Linked DNA regions of Homo sapiens: region 2 is linked to region 1. The links are contacts of gene promoters, found by promoter capture Hi-C in human tissues and cell types (Jung and others, 2019). All regions are on one chromosome and are shown on one strand. The core of a region is centred on a gene start or on the middle of the fragment in contact, and the rest is flanking DNA. Distances in the headings are between cores, read along the strand shown. Region 1 overlaps ZNF845 (zinc finger protein 845). Region 2 holds the start of ZNF415 (zinc finger protein 415).

The links. Contacts are between HindIII fragments. The study calls those that stand out against the background at their distance.
Region 2: the fragment with the promoter of ZNF415 here is called in contact with a fragment that was not itself captured in region 1 in 2 of the 25 tissues and cell types used here (bladder and pancreas).

Annotation. Positions count from the first base shown.
Region 1 is chr19:53,353,344-53,358,752 of GRCh38, forward strand. It overlaps ZNF845 (zinc finger protein 845), which reads left to right. Exons shown (of 4, transcript NM_138374.3): 4 at 1-3,563. The coding sequence ends at 245. It also overlaps the pseudogene LOC107987264. Among named protein-coding and RNA genes, the nearest start is that of ZNF525, 9.7 kb to the right of the region's middle. The HindIII fragment of the contact is 6,579 bases long and covers 1-4,668 here.
Region 2 is chr19:53,131,431-53,137,210 of GRCh38, forward strand. It overlaps ZNF415 (zinc finger protein 415), which reads right to left and starts at 1,480. Exons shown (of 4, transcript NM_018355.4): 1 at 1,426-1,480. ZNF347 (zinc finger protein 347) reads right to left here. Exons shown (of 5, transcript NM_032584.3): 5 at 3,505-5,780. The HindIII fragment of the contact is 11,962 bases long and covers 1-5,780 here.

The sequences.
Region 1 (5,409 bases), core at 129-2,628:
ATAAATGTGGTAAGGTTTTTAATCAACAAGCACACCTTGCATGTCATCATAGAATTCATACTGGAGAGAAACCTTACAAGTGTAATGAGTGTGGCAAAACCTTCCGTCACAATTCAGTCCTTGTAATTCATAAGACAATTCATACTGGAGAGAAACCTTACAAGTGTAATGAATGTGGCAAGGTTTTTAATCGAAAAGCAAAACTTGCACGTCATCATAGAATTCATACTGGAAAGAAACATTAGAAATATGAAGAATGTGACAAAGTTTACAGTTGTAAATCAAGTCTTGAAAGACAGGAGAATTCATACTGGAGAGAAAGCTTACAAATGTAAGAGTTTGTGACAAGAATCTTGGGCGTGATTCACACCTGGCCCAACAAACTAGAAGTCACACTGGAGAGAAACCTTACAAGTGTACTGAGTGTGGCAAAGCCTTTAGTGGGCAGTCAACACTTATTCACCATCAGGCAATCCATGGTATAGGGAAACTTTACTAATGTAATGATTATCACAAAGTCTTCAGTAACACTACAACCGTTTCAAATCATTGGAGAATCCATAATGAGAGATTTTGAAAGTGTAATAAATGTGGCAAATTTTTCAGACATTGTTCATACCTTGCAGTTCATCGGTGAACTCATGCTGGAGAGAAACCTTACAAATGTCATGATTGTGGCAAGGTCTTCAGTCTAGCTTCATCTTATGCAAAACAGGAGACTTCATACAGGAGACAAACTTCACAAGTATGATGATTGCAGCAAAGCCTTTACTTCACGTTCACACCTAATTAGACATCAGAGAATCCATACTGGACAGAAATCTTACAAATGTCATCAGTGTGGCAAGGTCTTCAGTCTGAGATCACCCCTTAAGGAACATCAGAAAATTCATTTTTGAGATGATTGTTCCAAATGCAATGAGTATAGCAAACCATCAAGCATTAATTGGCATTAGAGTCAATTCAGCATTGACTTGAGTTTGAATTGACTTAACATTGAGTTCAAGCATTAATTGACATTAAAGTGTTTATGTTAAGAAGATTGGGCCAGGCGGGGTGGCTCACGCCTGTAATCCCAGCACTTTGGGAGGCCAAGACCAATAGATCACTTGAGGTCAGGAGTTTGAGACCAGACTGGCCAACAGACATGAGTCACTTTTCCCACCCTGTATTTTGTTTCTTTAATAAAAACTGTTACGGGTTTTTATGGGTATCTGTTGAATCTAAATCACATTTGTTTGTATAATCATTCAACAATATTAAGACTTCCAATCCATCAATATGGGTTGTATGTCTATTTAGTTTTTTTGATCAATGTAGATTTCAAGGTACAAGCTTCTCACCTCCTTAATTCAGTTTATTTGTAAGTATTAAGTTTCATAGCAAATTGAAGTGTGTTCATAAGTTTCTTTAAACATTATTTATTGTTAATGTAAGGAAATTCAACTAATTTTGGGTGCTGATTTTGTATTCTGCAAATACATTGAGTGGGTTTATTAGTATCAGTAAAATCTTGGTTGATTCTTTGTGATTTTCTTTCTTTTTTTTTTGAGACAGTCTCACTCTGTTACCCAGGCTCTTTTCTTTTTTTTTGAGAAGGAGTCTCACTCTTGTCACTTGGACTGGAGTACAATGGCACGATCTTGGCTCACTGCAGCCTCTGCCTTTCGGGTTTAAGTGATTCTCCTGCCTACTAACTGAGATTACAGGTGCCTGCCACCATGTCCGTATAATTTTTTTGTATTTTTAGTAGAGACGGGGTTTCACCATGTTGACCAGGTTTTTCTTGAACTCCTGACTTCAGGTGATCCGCCCCCATCAGCATCCCAAAGTTCTGGGATTACAGGTGTGAGCCACCGCACCCAGCCAGTGATTTTCTATATAGAATGTCGTATCATCTACAAGGAAATAATTTTTTTTTTTGAGACAATGTCTCTCTCTGTCGCCAGGCTAGAGTGCCGTGGAATGATCTTTGCTCACTGCAACCTCTGTCTCCCACGTCCAAGCAATTCTGTCTCAGCCTCCTGAGTAGCTGGGACTACAGGCGCATGTCACCACACCTAGCTAATTTATTTATTTTTTTTATTTTAGTAAAGACGGGGTTTCACCATGTTGGCCCAGATGGTGGGCCAACATGGTGAGTACCTTGAAGAGAACTTGAAAGAATATGTTAGATCGCCTAACCTCATTATCCGCCCACTTCGGACTTGCAAATTGCTGGGATTATGGGTGTGAGCCATGAGCCCGGCCCCAACAAATGTAATTTTACTTCTGTCTTTCTGATTTGGATGAGTTTTATTTCTTTTGCTATTTAATTGCTCTGCCTAGGACAGCCAGTATTTATTGAATATCAGGGGTGAGAGCATTCTTGCATCATGTGATATCCTACAGGAAAACCATTCCATTTTCCTTCATTGGTTATTTCAGCTGTGGTCATTTCATGGATGATTTTTATATTTTTGAGGTAAAACTCTACCTATATTGTTTAGGATTTTTACGAAGAATGAATATTGAGTTCTGTGAAATGCTTTTTCTCTATCTATTGAGATAATGTGTTTTTTATCTGTCATTCTGTGCAAGTGTGTATCCCATTGATTTGAGTATGTTGAACCATCCTTGCATCCCATGAATAGGTAGCACTTGGATGTTTACAATCCCTTTTTATATCCTCTTGAATACAGTTTGCTAGTATAAGGGTCTTCAAGAAGTTCATGGAAAAATACATATTATGAAAAATTTGTGCATAAATTTCACACTTTTTGTACCAAAATAAACCAGTATAAACTTGTTATAACGTCTGAACAGGCTCTAGTTTGAGGCACTCAGAAGGATAAGACATCAGTTTGAAAAGAACCTCTATCACAGCAATACAAATTCTGTTAAAACAAGAAGAAACATCAAATTTACGATGAGACCAGACGCAGTGGCTCAGGCCTGTAATCCCAGCGGTTTTAGAGGCCCAGGCAGGTGGGTGACGTGAGCCTAGGGATTCAAGACCAGCCTGGGCGACATAGGGGACCTCTTCTCTGCTAAAAGTAAAAAAAGTCAGCCAGGTGTGGTGGTGCACTGCTGTGGTCCCAGCTACTCTGGGCACTGAAGTGGGAGGATCAGTTGAAGCAGGGATTTTGAGGCTGAAGTGAGCCCTGATCTCACCACTGCACTCCAGCCTGGGTGACAGAGCTAGACCCTGTCTCAAACAAGCAAATAAATGAGAGGCATAATTCCTCCTTTGAGAATAAAGGAAAAGATTTCCCTTCCTTTTGTCTCTTTTCTCAGGACGTTTATTTAGAAAATTTGTAAATGAGGCCGGGCGTGGTGGCTCACGCCTGTAATCCCAGCACTTTGGGAGGCTAAGGTGGGCGGATCACGAGGTCAGGAGATCGAGACCATCCTGGCTAACACGGTGAAACCCCGTCTCTACTAAAAATACAAAAAATTAGCTGGGCGAGGTGGCAGGCACCTGTAGTCCCAGCTACTCGGGAGGTTGAGGCAGGAGAATGGCGTGAACCCAGGGGGGCGGAACCTGCAGTGAGCCGAGATCGCACCACTGCACTCCAGCCTGGGTGACAGCGAGACTCTGTCTCAAAAAAAAAAAAAAAAAAAAAAGAAAATTTGTAAATGTATTTTCTCTGTCTTCAGAAGTGGTATTTTTTAGAAACAATAAAACTTGTTTTCATCTTAGTGGTGATCCAGGGGTGTTTTTCTAAAGGACTTGGGAGTTCTGTCTTTGAAATGCCAACAACAAAAAAGATAGTACATCTATCTCAGTAGTAAATTAAGTAATTCAAAATGAAGCTGGGTGCGGTGCCTCACGCACTTTGGGACAGTGAGGCAGGTGGATCACCTGAGGTCAGGAGTTCGAGACCAGCATGACCAACGTGGTAAAACCCCATCTCTGAGATACAAAGGAGGTTGCAGTGAGTGGAGGTTGCACCACTGCACTCCAGCCTGGGCAACAAGAGTGAAACTACTTCTCAAAAAAAAAGAAAAAAAAATCAAGTAATTCCAATTTAAAGCTGTTGGACCTTTAAATAATCCTACTTTTTTTTTTTTTTTGAGATGGGGTACCCCTCTGCATCACAGGCTGGAGTGTGGTGGCCTAATGTCAGCTCACTGCAACCTCCACCTCCCGGGTTCAAGTGAATCTCCTGCCTCAGCCTCCGGAGTAGCTGGTATTACAGGCATGTGCCACCACGCCCAACTAATTTCTGTATCTCTAGAAGAGATGGGATTTTGCCATGTTGGTCAGCTTGGTCTCCAACTCCAGACCTGAAGAAAGTGATCCGTCTACCTTGACCTCCCAAAGTGCTGGGATTACAGGCATGAGCCACTGCCTCCAGCCTCTTCTTTTTTTTTTTTTTGAGATGGAGTTTCTCTTGTTGCCCAGGCTGAAGTGAAATGATGCTATCTCAGCTCACTGCAATTTCTGCTTCCCAGGTTCAAGCAATTATCCTACCTCAGCCTAAACCTACCAAAATCAAAATGGCTAGGAGAGTGACCTGTGGTCGTCCTCACTGCTACACCCCCACCAGCTCCATGACAGTTTAAAAATGCCATGGCAACGTCAGAAAGCTACGCTATAAGGTCTGAAGAGGGGAAGCATGAATAATTCACCCCTTGTTTAGTAGATCATTAAGAACCTCACTCATCCCTGGCCTGCGTACTCTGTCCCGCATCCCAGGCGGTGGCCCTAGGGAAGTCTCCGGAGCTGAGCACAGGGTGGACTCTCCCTCCCGAGTGAATGAGGAATAGGGAGAGGATTTCTACTCTGTTCTGTGGGCCTTCAGCATAAAATTGCTCTTTCCACCCAGGCAGAGATTTGCATTTTACATTCTAGTTTGCATCCCCGTTTCAGGCAATTCCAGGGCTTTTGAATTATGCTTCAGCATCCCGGGCGGGTCTCGCCTCCAAAACCTGGAAAACACAGGCTGCAGAGCGAGGCGGAGCAAATTGTAGGCCCCGCCCTGCCCAGCCCAGCCCCGCCCCGCCCCGGGGATCCCTACCCCGCGGGCCACTTATCCACTTCCGTGCCACGCCCCTTGCCCTTCGCGCCCCGCCCTTCCTCGCCCGGGCCCCGCCCACCTTATCAGGGTTCCTCCCAGGCCTGGCTCCTGTCCTGCGCAGATTCGCACAGACACGGCAGCGGATCACCTCAGTGAAGGTCACACTGCAGCGCCTGAGTTTGGCTCTGTCTCTAGTTAAGTCGGCCCTTCGCAGGCCCCTGGCTCTGCTATACTTGGGACGTGGGGTCCCCAGAGACCTGGAAATTCCCACCCCCTTTTCTCCAAATAGAGCATATTGAGACTTCCCTGTGAGGGTCTGCAGGTCGCTTCCTTTTGGGGTTTTTTTTGCAGAGACAGAGTCTCACTCTGTCGCCCAGGCTAGAGTGCGGTGGCGCAATCTTGGCTC
Region 2 (5,780 bases), core at 230-2,729, 220 kb before region 1:
CTGTGCATTTTAAACTTATAAAGACAGAAATCAACAGGTCAAAAGGTAGTCATCACATCCAGTCAGTTCACAACTCACCTGGACCTGGGGTCCCCCTCTTTCCTCATTATGGTGTGTTTCCCTCCCTCGTTCCGTACATCGCTCTCATTCTCACCTTCTTTCTCTAGCTCTTTCCTTCCCCTTTATTTTCTCCCTAGGATTCTGCTCATTTTGAGCCCCTCTCCTCTCCTGCTGCTCCTCCCCGTCTTCCCTCTATTCTTTCTCTTCCACTTGCTCTTTCCATTCTTGCAATGTATTTAATTCCTCTTTCTTCCTAATCTTTTCATTGTCCCAGTCTCCACATATTTCTGGCTCTTTCTTCCCCATTTCAGCACTCCCTGTTAAATTCCCTCTTCCCTGTTACACACCGTTGTCCCCACTCTTTGGCACCCCCAGATCCCAGGCCTCCCCGTGCTGTGGTTCTCCCTCTGCTTCTCCTTGTCATCGGCTGCCCCCTCTTGCTGTCCCGGTACCACACTGCCCTGTCTGCCCTGGCTCCAAATCCCTTCTGCTCTCCCCCACTCTCTGTCTGAGGAGCCTCCTCCTTTGCTGCCCCTCTCCCTACCTGGCTGTCCTTCATCTCTCTGGATACTGTGCTTTTTCTCGAAATGTGTCTAGTTACTTTTCTCTCCCTGCTACTTTCTCGGCTTCTTCTTCCACTCTTACTGTCTCTGAAAATCTCTAACCATCCTCTACTTTGCCATCTGTTTATTGGTTTGCCTCATTCCTTCCTGTCTCAGGTTTTCTACTGCTCTCTCTGTCCCTCGATCCCTTTGGCCCACACATTCACAGGACGGTTTGGGGTAAGACGCCTGCATCCTGGAGGAGCGCATTTTCCACGGGGTGGAGGAGGGCAGGCAAGAACATCGGGTGTCACAGGACAGGCCCTGAGCACCTCCCCAGCGCGGGCTCAGGGGAGGCCTGGGGAGCAGCGGGGCCCGGCACGAGGAGGAGGGAGGTGGGGCGCGACAGCGCCTTCAGACAGGGGTGGGGTCTGCAGGATCCCAGGACCAGGCAGAGGACGCAAGGCTCCCCGGGACTGCGGCTGCAGCTGCGGCGCTGCGCTCCAGGGGCCGACGAGGGCAAGGCTGGGAGGCACCCAGGACGGGAATACACCTCTTGGGTGAAGACTTTAAAAAGCCCGGGGATGGGGGAGGGGGTCAGGAAAAGGTTTTAAGCGGGAGGAAGAAGCAAAAGGCCGGGGACGGGGAGCAGCCTCAAAGCGACTTCAACCCAAAGGGAAGCGACTCCGGACCCACACTGCGAGGCCTGTATTCACCTGGGGTGGAGTGTACGGGGATTTTAAGGGCCGTATCGACCCTGGACATCGGCTGTGGAAATGGGAAACAGGGAGCGCAGGTTTAATCTACACAGAGGGTCACTCACGCTCGACGCCGTCACCTTCACCCAACGCGATCCGTTTCCGGGCCTGTAGGAAACTGCGCATGCGCGGAGAGAAGAGCCCGGGCAGCCTGAAGGAATGGCTGGAGTGGGCGGGGTCTGCGCCGCTTTAAGGTAAAAAAATCAGAGTTGTGTGGGCCACTTATGGTGGAAACCAAAATGTTTTCCACTTACCAAGTTGAAAACGGTTTATGTTAAAACTATTTTGCCTGCAGGTTGGACCCGATCCTGCTAGGGAGTCTCCTGCAGCTTAGCAGTCCGGGAACTGGGATTTCGGTGGGGAATCCAAAACTAGCAGTGATTGGATCCATAAAAGTTACCAAAAAACAAAAATGAAGTGTCTGGAATCACTCCACTGGATTTCAAGACTACCAATATAGGAAAGGTAATAAAAACTGTGTGGTTTTGGGGCAATAAAAGACATATGGATTGATGCAATACAGTAAGAGAGTACAAAAATAGCCTCTACAGGTACTTCCAACTGATTTTTGACAAAGTTACCAAGGGAATTGAATGAAGAATTTTTAAAAACTGGTGAGGGGCTAACTTAATATCCACAGCAGGAAAGAAGTCATCTCTACTCAAACTTCACAACCGTACAGACATTAGTTCAACATTGACCATAGCCTAAATGTAAAATATCAAACCATAAAATGGTATCCTGTAGGAGACTGAAAGAAAAAATTACTCACAATAAAATCGTAAGAATCAAGAGCTTGTTCAAAAATTCTTAGCCATAGCAGCAAAAGCATGATTCATTAAAGAAAAAAAAAATCAACTGGTATTTACCAAATTAAAAACTTTTGGTCTGTGAAAGACCTTCAGACGATGAAAGAAAAGGTATTTGATATGGTTTGGCTCAGTGTCCCCATCAAATCTCATTTTCAAGTATAAACCTCAGGTGTTGAGGGAGGGACCTGGTGGGAGGTGACTGGATCATGGGGGTGGTTTTCCCCAAGCCGTTCTCATGATAGTGAGCTCTCAGGAGATCTCATGGTTTAAAAATCTGTGATAGTTCCTCCTTTGATCGCTCTCTCTCCTGCTGCAAGCAAGACGTGCCTTGCTTCGCCTTTGCCTTCCTCTATGATTGTAAGTTTCCTGAGGGCTCCCTAGCCATGCGGAACTGTGAGTCAATTAAACCTCTTTTGTTTATAAATTACCCAGTCTCAGGTTGTCACAGGAGGGTTTAGGCAGTGTGAAAATGGACTAATACAGTACTGAATAATAGAAAATATTTGCCTACCATATATCTGACATAAAACTGGTATGTGGAATGTATAAAGAATCCTAGAACGACTTAAAAAAAAAGCAAAATAATCAAATTAGAAAATGGATAGAACTATGAAGAGACATTTCACTGAAGCAGATATACTGAGATAAATGGGCACATAAAAAGATTTCCAACATCACCATCCATCAAATCTCAGACCTCAGCATATTCTGCTTTCTCCATGTGAACCCCTGGATGCTGTCAGAGATCATGAGAAACACAGGAGCTTCTACTGAACAGTCCAGTTGATGTGTATTAGCAACCTGTAATTGTTTTTGGAAACGAACAATGGAAACACAGATACAAAAATATTCTCAGCTCAAGAAATATGCACTTTGTCATTATTAGTGATTTTTTTTTTTTTTTGAGACAGAGTCTTGTTCTGTCACCCAGGCTGGAGTGCGGTGGTGTGATCTCAGCTTACTGTAACCTCTACCTCCCAGGCTCAAGCGATTCTCCTGCCTCAGCCTCTTGAGTAGCTTCAACCACACGCACGCGCCACCACACCCAGCTATTTTTTGTATTTTTAGTAGAGATGGGTTTTCACCATGTTGGCCAGGCTGGTCTCCAATTCCTGACCTCAGGAGATCCACCCCCCTTGGCCTCCCAAAGTGCTGGGATTACAGGGGTGAGCTACAGCGCCTGGCCACCACTAGAACTAACACCTCAGGTACTGGATGCCTCCTTCGAAAGATTGGATAATCGTTCTTACAGGATTATGTGGTAATGAGTGTCTCTGTCATTCATTTAGGTAAGATGCATACGCAATAGTGATCTATAAAATATAGACTTAATTGATCTATAAAAATATAGATTTAATACAAAGTTACCACAATCACAATGATATATGAAGATAAACCATTTAAAAATTACAAGAGATACTAACAAAATAGGTATAGATGGTGAGTAAAGGACAAAAATAACTAGCATTGTTACTGTAGCATCATCATTAAAAGCTTTGTCTTTGCAACCAGACAACATGGATTCAAATCTCGATTCTGCCTCTTACTGAAATGTGACAAGATGAGTCTTTTAAAGCAGAATATGCTGAGATCTGAGATTTGATGGATGGTGATGTTGGAAATCTTTTTATGTGCCTATTTATCTCAGTATAACTGCTTCAGTGAAATGTCTCTTCATAGTTCTACCCATTTTCTAAATATATATATATATATATATATATATATATATATATATATAGAGAGAGAGAGAGAGAGAGAGAGAGAGAAAGAGAGAGAGAGAGAGAGAGAGAGATGGAGTCCCGCTCTGTCACTGAGACTGGAGTGCAATGGTGGGAACTCGGCTAACTGCAACATCCGCCTCCCAGGCTCAAGCAATTCTCCTGCCTCAGCCTCCCGAATAGCTGGGATTACAGGCGCCCGCCATCACACCCAGCTAATTTTTGTATTTTTAGTAGAGACGGGGTTTCACCATGTTGATCAGGCTGGTCTCGAATTCCTGACCTCAGGTGATCCCCCCGCCTCGGCCTCCCAAAGTGCTGGGATTACAGGCATGAGCCACTGTGCCCAGCCTAATTTGATTATTTTGCTTATCTGTCCTAAGTTTCCTCACCTCTGAAATGAGAATATCATTAATACTTATTTCAGGAGCTGATGATTCAGTTGTTACACATAAAGCATTAATAACTGTGATTCTTACTCTAAATGTGATTGATATAAAATATATATGCAAAGATAAATCACTTATTAAAGAATATATATCAGTTTTTTAAAATGGAAACAAATCTAAGGGGAGTATATTAAATGGCAGCTGTCATTGCAAAAGTTGCACAAATATCATGTTTTGCTGTAAGATCCTCTGGCTCAGAAAAGAAATACCAGCCACAGTAGGAAGTTGAATTGCCTCCAGGGATTCAATGAGAGAAATTATCTCCTTTGCATAAATGATAATTAATATCTTGGGGACTCTCTTATTAACTGTATTTTCATTTACTTCTCCAGATGCTGGTTAACCTCCACACGCTTGATTTTCAAGCATCTGATCTTTGATAACTTCCATATTAAGAGACTTCATTTCACCATCTAGTATCCCTGTACTTTAATTGAACTAAAGATTTACAAGGACACTCCATTTTCCTATTTACAGAGAACCTAGTCTGTACCTGCCATTGTTTTACATACATTTTCATGTCACAAAATTTTATTTCTAAACAACACCCTCATTTATGTATTTTCTAAGTGTTCACTGGAGTAACACAGAGAAGAAATGCAGTAAACATATAATTTGGATTAAAATGTATGGAAGGAAAAAATCCTTAAAGTAAAAATCATATACAAAAACAAAAAGTCATTTTACTACTATTGGCTCATGGCTGTAATCCTAGCACTTTGGGAAGCTGAGGCAGGAGGAATGCTTGAGGCCAAGAGTTCAAGACCAACCTGGCCAACATAGCGAGACCCCACGTCTAAAAAGAAAAAGAAAAAAAAAAAGAAAAGAAGCTATGGAGAATATGTTACACAATACCATAAACTGAACAAGACATGAATATAACACAGCCTTTGGAAAAATGCCCTTTGGCTAAAATTGCTTGATCATATTATGTAATAAACTTTTCCACAAATTCATTTGCATTGAACTACTGTAAAAATATTTTAGGCAATTTAAACAGCATTTCACAAATATTTTCAAGAATGACGTTGTGTAATGGGCCCTATGGGTTCAGCAGAAAGGAAGAGTATTATCTACTATTATGAAGAAAGCGGAGGTCTTCCCTAACAAAGAAGTTAGAAATTTCTTTTGTTTTTTTGAGAGTCTCACTCTATTGCCCAGGCTGGAGTGCAGTGGTGAGATCTCAGCTCACTGCAACCTCCGTCTCCCGGGTTCAAGTGATTCTCCTGCCTCAGCCTCCCTGGTAGCTAGGACTACAGGAGTGCGCCACCACACCTGGCTAATTTTTGTATTTTTAGTAGAGATGGGGTTTCACCATGTTGGCCAGGCTCGTCTTGAGCTCCTGACCTAAGGTGATCCACCTGCCTCGGGCTCCCAAAGTGCTGGGATTACAGGCATGAGCCTGTAATTTCTGGCCATGCCTGGCCAGAAATCAGAAGTT